2 separate regions of the Homo sapiens genome follow, and region 2 is linked to region 1. Evidence: promoter capture Hi-C in 16 types of primary human blood cells and fetal thymus (Javierre and others, 2016). All regions are on one chromosome and are shown on one strand. Each heading gives the region's core, a stretch centred on a gene start or on the middle of the fragment in contact. The rest is flanking DNA. Distances are from core to core; before and after follow the strand shown. Region 1 holds the start of PER3 (period circadian regulator 3). Region 2 has its middle 34 kb from the start of TNFRSF9.

Region 1 (3,835 bases), core at 485-2,984:
TCGGCCTCCCAAAGTGCTGGGATTACAGGCGTGAGGCACCGCGCCCAGCCTCATTACTGCATTTTGAAAGTATGTGTACGGCATGTAAAGGTAACTATTTCGTGGAATGCATTTTTTTCCCATAACTTCCATAGAAGACAATATTTCTTTAAAAGGTCAGCCTTCAAAATGTGCTTATGCTAAACTCTACTCTCTTGCAACACATGAGCAAAACATTGCATAGGTATTATACACTATTATACAGATAAAGTTTTCCTGGTCTTTCACATGTGAACAATTAAGACACGAATGGAATCGGTGTAGATTTGCTCATCTTCCACAAAGCACCAGAAAAAGCTCAAATTATTTGTCTGACTGAGACCCCACTGACCACTCCTCTGGCTGCTTGTATGAGTCCTGGTGCATTCGTAGGATGAAATTTCTCTCCGGCTTGTTTACCTTGAACGCTGTGGACACAGCGGAGAGCATAGTTGAGGGCATCTAGAGTGCTTGGTTTATTGCGTCTCTCCGAGGGGAAGTATTTTTTCATTTCTTGGACAACCATGATAAGTTCTTCAGAAACTCTGTTTCGATCTTGCTGTTCACTGGAAGATAAAAAAAAATTACAACTTCATCCTCTGAAGACAACAGCATCTTGCGGCTTAGGGAACACAAACTGCAAGCCAGGTAAGTTTCTAAGTGCTCTACCGGCATCAGTCCACAGGGTGGTGACCCCTCTTCCTCTAGGTGGGGAACTCGAGGCAAAGCAACTGGTGAATGACAAACATTCTCCACTTACTTTCCCTTAATCCACTTGAGCCCCAACTCAGCTAACTTTTGTAACCACTTTTCCCTCCTGATACTCTTCGGTAATTTTCTTCAGTGTCACGGATCACTTCATCCTACATTGCCCGAGTCTCCCCTTTACACTTTCCCCTGGGCTTGAAAACAAAAGAATAAAAAGATTTAGGTCCCCCTTTCCCTGCTCCAGGGAAGGACAACGAACGCATGGGGCCCTCGGCCTGAAGCCAGCGCGTCACCTGTGGCTGCTGTCCGCCAATTTCCTCTGCAGATGGAACTCGGGGCTCCACCGCTCCCCCGATTCTTCGCCCAGGGCCTCGTCCTTAGCCCCCCGTCTCCCGGGGCCAGGAGCTTCCCCGCGGGGCATCTCGAGGTCTCCGCGGGGCTCCACGTCGTGCTGGGACGGCCCGCAGCCTGCTTCTCGCTCACTTTGCAGTCAGTGACAGACACCGGTTTCTCACTCCGGTCCCCGCCATGGCGTTAGTGAGAACAGGCGGCCACCACGAGCCAGGGGGTCACGCTCATCTCCGAGGAGCTTTTCCCTCCAACATTTTCAAAACCCGGAGCTCGCTCGACTTTCAGGACTCCGGCCTAGGGGGAGGAGACAAGGGTGACAAGGGACAAATGGAACAGACAGTCCGACGCCAGCGGCCCGGCTGGCTGGGGCGCCCCGACCGCGCGGTCCTCACCCCTGCCCCAACTTTCCCGCGCGCCGAGGGATGGGGCCCGGGGAGGCGGGTGGCTCGGAAGCGCCACGCTCCGGGGGCCCCCAGTACCGAGGGCAGGGCTCGCGGGGCTCCTCTGCCGCGCGCGAGTGCCCAGAACTCCCGCCCGGCCGCCCAGAACTCCCGCCCGGCCGCGCACTCACCTGCTGCCCCCGCCCTTGGCCCCGCGCACAGCCGCTCGCCCCCGGGGCCGCCCTCGCGCAGTCTCGAGGCTCGCCGCGTGCCGGTCAGCAGCCGGCGCCGCGCCCCCTGCCGCCGCGTGACCGGTCCCGCCCCCGGGCCGTGCGATTGGTCGTCGGGGCCGACTCCGCAGGCCTCCATTGGCCCTGGGGCGGGGCGCGAGCCGGTGCGCCCGGGTTATATAAGCCAGGGCGAGGGGGCGGGGCCCCCGGGGCGCGTTACATAACGCGCGGGCTCGGGCGGAGGCCGGCGCTCGGCCAATCCCAGCAGGCCGGCGGGCGGGCAGGGGACGGGGTGGCCCTCAGCGGCCTCAGGCCTGTGCCGCGCGACTGGAGTGTCCGGCCCCCTGGCACGGCGCCGGGGCGGAGCCGCTGAAGCCAGCGCAGAAATGATAGGGCCAGGAAGCTGCCAGCCACGTGGGGGCGGGACCCGGGCTCTGTGGGGCGGGGCGGGTCCGGCCCAACCTCCACGTGAGAGGCGGGCGGGGAAGGAGAGGGGAGTGAGAGGCGGGGGCAGAGAGGGGCGAGAGGCGGAGTCGGGGGGCTTGAGTCGGGGTCAGGGGGAGGCTGGAAATGGGGACGGATGGGGGCGAGAGGCGGGGACGGGGGGGCGGATGGGAGCGGGGGTGCCGAGAGACGTGGGGAGCGAGAGGCAGGGGCGGGGGGGCGACGGTGTCGAGGGCGGGGGCATTAGAGGGAGGGAGAGGCGGGGACTGGGGGCGAGCAGGGGCGGCTCAGGCCAGCGCTCTGGGGTCGAGTCCTGGAGTTTGTAGGTGGCTCCCGGCTGCCCGAGCGGGTGTGGGGAGGAGCCCAGGGTGGGGCGGGCTGCCGGCAGCGGTCCTCATCGTGCTTTGGCCGTCTTTCTGGGTTCCCACGGTTTTCACCGCCCGTGACCTACCGAGCCCACCCCAACCGCCCCCATCCTCCGCTAACTCTTTCGGTGAGTGGGGTGGACTTGGAGGAACCGGGCCATAAAGCAGCCCTGGTAAAAAGCCCACCCGATTTTTAGAAACAGATTTTTTATTTTTTGAGACAGGGTTTTGCTCTGTTGTCCAGGCTGGATGGAGTGCAGTGGCGCGATTTTGGCTCACTGCAACCTCCGTCTTCTGGGCTCAAGCCAGTTTCCTGCTTCAGCCTCCCGAGTAGCTGGAACTACAGGTGCAGCCACCACACCTGGCTAATTTTTGTGTTTTTGGTAAAGATGGTCTGTGTTAGCCAGGCTGTTCTCAAACTCCTAAGCCCCAGTGATCTGCTGGCCTCGGTCTCCCAAAATGTTGGGATTACTGGCGTGAGCCACTGCACCGGCCCAGAAACAGAATTTTGACGGTGGAACTTAAAACACTTCCCTGCACTTCCTAAAATTAGATTCATTTGGCAACTGGAGGAAGACAAACGTAAAAGACACTCTGTTTCAGAAAAGAAGTTGTAGAGCCCTTTAAAAAAAATGTCTGAAAGCTCAGTTTAGTATCTCAACATGTTAGAAATGAAAGGTACAGTGCAGAGTGCCGCCCCTCTTCGCTGCCTGGTACAGAAAAAATATTCAGTATTTGTTGGATGGATGAAATTGTATGTAAAGGAAGAGGGGAAAAGTGAGGTGAGTGTTCATGTTAGGTATTGAATAAACCACCTTATATCTTCCAAGCGATACTCTAGGTTGGCTTGCTCTCCTCCGAAGCTGGGTTTTGTCAAACTGCATTCGTTCAGCAAGCATTTATTGCGTGCAGATCTGGGTAGGGACGCTTGGAATCCCAGCGGATAGAACAGTGGCCCAAAGTCCCTGCCACCCAGGGAGTTGACGTTTTATTGAGAAAGCCATACAAACAACCCCATAAACAAGTTCATAAAGCCTAAAGCGATGTGTAGAAAACAAACTACTGGAAGGAAGAGTAACTGGGAGAAAGGTGGAGTGGGGAGGCCAGAGCCTGCTTAGTCAGATCAGCAGGGCAGGCCTCTGGGAAGGCGGATTTCAACCTGAGATGAGAGGCGCCTGCCGCGAGTGGGGAAGGCGGATTTCAACCTGAGATGAGAGGCGCCTGCCGCGGGTGAGGAAGTAGACCCGGCAGAGCTGAAAGTACCTGCAGAAGACCTTTGGAAAGAAGTCAGTTTGCTGATGAGAAACCGAAACAAACTTTATCAGGTCCATTTCTCCCT
Region 2 (3,835 bases), core at 890-3,389, 120 kb before region 1:
CGGAGTCTCACTCTGTCACCCAGGCTGAGTGCAGTGGTGTGATCTTGGCTCACTGCAATCTCTGACTCCAGGTTCAAGTGATTCTACTGCCCCAGGCTCCGGAGTAGCTGGGATTACAGGTGCATACCACCATGCCTGACTAATTTTTCTATTTTTAGTAGAGATGGGGATTCGTCATGTTGGCCAGGCTGGTCTCGAACTCCTGACCTCAGGTGATCCACTGCCTCAGCCTTTCAAAATGCTGGGATTACAGCATGAGCACCATTCCTGGCTTAATTTTTGTATTTTTAGTAGAGACAGAGTTTCACCATGTTGGTCAGGCTGGTCTTGAACTCCTGACCTCAGGTGATCTGCTTGCTTGCCTCGGCCTCCCAGAGTGCTGGGATTACAGGTGCTAGCCACCGTGCCCAGCCTACTAGCCATAATCTTAAAAGGTAAACAACTACCTGTGAAGTTGAGGCTTCGAAAACTTAGTATTCCGGAAGGAATGATAATTGTGTATTTCTTTTCCTCCTACTCTGAGTTTGGAGTTGTTGAAATAGGGGCCTAAGGGAGTCTAAAAAACAAAAAATCTCTGACATAATGCTCAGAAGCTCACTGTCAGTTAGTTATTTACATTTTGTTGTGGTCGCTAATTTTTTTTTTTTTTTTAGAGACATGGTCTGGCTCTGTTGCTTAGGCTGGAGTGCAGTGGTGTGATCATAGCTCACTGCAGCCTTGAACTCCTGGGTTCCTACTTCAGCCTCCTGAGTAGCTACGACTTCTAATTTTTAAATTTTTTTAAATTTAAAAAAATGTTTAAATTTTTTTGTAAAGATGAAGTCTTGCTATGATGCCCTGCTGCTCTCAAACTCCTTGTGTTCAGAAATCCTCCCGCCTCAGCCTCCCAAAGTGCTGGGATTGCAGGCCTGAGTCATTGTACCTGGCATAACCTGATTTCTTGACACCTAAGGACAGTCAGACTGCTTCCACTCACACTCTTTCACTTTTTAAATCTACTAGTTTATAAGATCAACCACTCACAATTTTTTGTTTTTGTTTTGAGACAGTCTCTCGTCACCCAGGCTGGAGTGCAGTGACACGATCTCAGCTCATTGCAGTCTCCACCTCCCAGGTTCAAGCAATTCTCTCGCCTCAGCCTCTGAAGTAGCGGGGATTACAAGCGCGCACCACCACACCTGGCTAATTTTTTTGTATTTTTGGTAGAGATGGGGTCTTACTATGTTGCCCAGGCTCCCAACCTCAAACTCCCAACCTCAGGTGATCCTCCCCCCTTGGTCTCCCAAAGTGCTGGGATTACAGGCGTGAGCCACTGCGTGCAGCCCATACTCTTTCAATAATTATTTTAGCTTCAGTGGCAAAGGCTAATAATGATCGTATGTGTCTCTCTGATTGCAATGATGGGATGTTTATAGATACCAGGCACATACTCTCCTTGATCACAGCTTCACTAGAGACTCTTTGGCTAAGTTAACTGGTGTTCAATATTTTGAATTCGCATCCTGGACCTTCCTCCTACTGCCCGTGTTCGTGGTGTTGCTGTTGGGTTGGTACCGGCATCCATATTGGTGTTCTCACTGTTGGTGTTGGGTTAGTACTGGTGTTGATATTGGCATTCATGGTGCTGATATCTCTCTATAGTTTTCTGTCCAGCCTGTACTCAAGACAGGAAGTTTGAAGAGTTTCTGTGTGCAAGTATGAATTTCAAGGGGGTAGTAGGGAGTAAAGTCAAGAAAAAAAATCTGGAATGATCTTAGAAGTTTCCCCTCCCTCCCTCCCTCTTTTCTTTCTTTCTTTCTTTCTTTCTTTCTTTCTTTCTTTCTTTCTTTCTTTCTTTCTTTCTCTTTTTCTTTCTTTCTTTCTTCCTTTCTTTCTTTTCTTTCTTTCTTTCTTGCTGTGCTATAAAGTGAGATAAACAGTTAAGACGTTCACCAGTTCCTGTGGCAGAGGCTCTGGCTGTATGGACGAAGGAAAGGTGTGTGCCTTGATTCAAATGCAAGTGAAACCAGCATCTTTGCAGGAACATGGAAAGGAATGTTTAGAAAAATTGATTCCCATTTCAATATTTAGTATAATTTACTCCACTTATCATGAAATGCTTCTTCACAAATTTTATGAAAACAGGAGCTGCCCCTATTAAGAACCCCATGCACCTCATGCAATTCTATGGGTGTTGAAAGAAGTACTTGCTGGCCAAGTGAAAGCCTCAAGACTGAAAGGCAACATTATATTACAGCAGCAGTTGGTTCCTCAAAACAAGATGCTCACCTGGAAAGAATTCCGTGTGTTCCCGACCCCCACCCACCCACTGGCTGTGAAGGAGCCCTTCAGGCCCCCGTGTGCCCAGCAAGACAAGCCCCCCAGACACCCCTCACCCGGCAAGACACTGCCCCACTTCATCACTACGAAATGTCCAAGAAGAGAGCTAAATGTAAAACCAATCACCCACCTTTCCCTAGGAAACCGTCAGCCCAACCTCAACAAACCCTACATTCCTGCTGACCTTGAAACCACCAGAAAATAAGAAACAATTCACCAAGGAAGAAATACAACTTGTCCTTAAATACTGAAGAAAGATGTTCATTTCATCCAGGGAAGAGCTGATGTTGCAGTATTAAGCCTGGAGGCCATCTAGAAGCAGAATTCCCCTCTTCCTTGGAACACTGCAGTCTTTTTCTCTTGAGGCCTTCAACATATTGGAAGAGGCCTACCTGCACTGTGGAGGGCCATCTGCTTTATTCAAAGTTTACTGATTTATTAGGCCGGTGCAAAAGTAATTGCAGTTTTTGCCACAGTTTTAATGGCAAAAACCGCAATTACTTTTGCACCAACCTAATACATGTTAATTACGGCCTGGCACGGCGTCACGCCTATAATCCCAGCACTTTGGGAGGCCGAGGCAGGGGCATCACCTGAGGTCGGGAGTTCAAGACCAGCCTGACCAACATGGAGAAACCCCGTGTCTACTAAAAATACAAAATTAGACGGGCGTGGTGACATATGCCTGTAATCCCAGCTACTCGCAGGAGGCTGAGGCAGGAGAATTGCTTGAACCTGGGAGGTGGAGGGTACAGTGAGCCAAGATCGCGCCATTACACTCCAGCCTGGGCAACAAGAGCGAACTCTGTCTCAAAAAAAAAAAAAAGAAAAAAGAAATGTTAATCACACATAAAAAAAAGATACCCTCACAGCAACATCTGGATTGATGTTTGACCAAAAACTGTGTACTATAGCCTAGCCAAGGTGACAGGTGAAATTAACCATCGCAGAGGTATTTAGCTGTGTTGGCAATGTTTATTTTCTAAGCTGGGCAGTGGATATGCATGTATTCACTAAATTATCCTTTAAGTCCCCTTTCTATGTGGGCTTTTTTTTTTTTTTTTTTTTTTGAGACAGAGTCTCACTCTGTCACCCAAGCTGGAGTCCAGTGGCACGATCTAGGCTTACTCTAACCTCTGCCTCCCGGGTTCAAGCGATTCTCCTGCCTCAGTCTTCCAATTAGCTGGGTTTACAGGCGCCACCACCACGCCCGGCTAATTTTTATATTTTTAGTAGAGACAGGGTTTCACCATGTTGGCCAGGCTGGTCTTGAACTCATGACCTCAGGTGATCTGCCTGCCTCATCCTCCCAAAGTGCTGGGATTATAGGCGTGAGCCACTGCTCCCAGCCCCTTTTCCATGTCTTAATAACACATAAATATTGCATAACACGTAACTATTTAAGTAATAAACAGCAATAATCAGAATATATTCTAAAATCAAAGTAAAAACAAATTGACTACACGTCTTTACTTTTTTTGTTGTTTTTTTTTTTACGAGATGGAGTCTTGCTCTG

The links. Contacts are between HindIII fragments. The CHiCAGO score rates a contact against its expected background, and 5 or more counts as called.
Region 2: a contact is called between a fragment that was not itself captured here and the fragment with the promoter of PER3 in region 1, in 1 of 17 cell types (megakaryocytes). The highest score is 5.2, in megakaryocytes.

What each region holds. Positions count from the first base shown.
Region 1 is chr1:7,782,190-7,786,024 of GRCh38, reverse strand. It overlaps PER3 (period circadian regulator 3), which reads right to left and starts at 1,734. Exons shown (of 22, transcript NM_001377275.1): 1 at 1,649-1,734; 2 at 1,020-1,371; 3 at 439-584. The coding sequence starts at 1,147. RefSeq lists a silencer at 1,659-2,268. The HindIII fragment of the contact is 8,097 bases long and covers 1-3,835 here.
Region 2 is chr1:7,904,458-7,908,292 of GRCh38, reverse strand. It overlaps a transcript of UTS2 not described here. Among named protein-coding and RNA genes, the nearest start is that of TNFRSF9, 34 kb to the left of the region's middle. The HindIII fragment of the contact is 4,813 bases long and covers 1-3,835 here.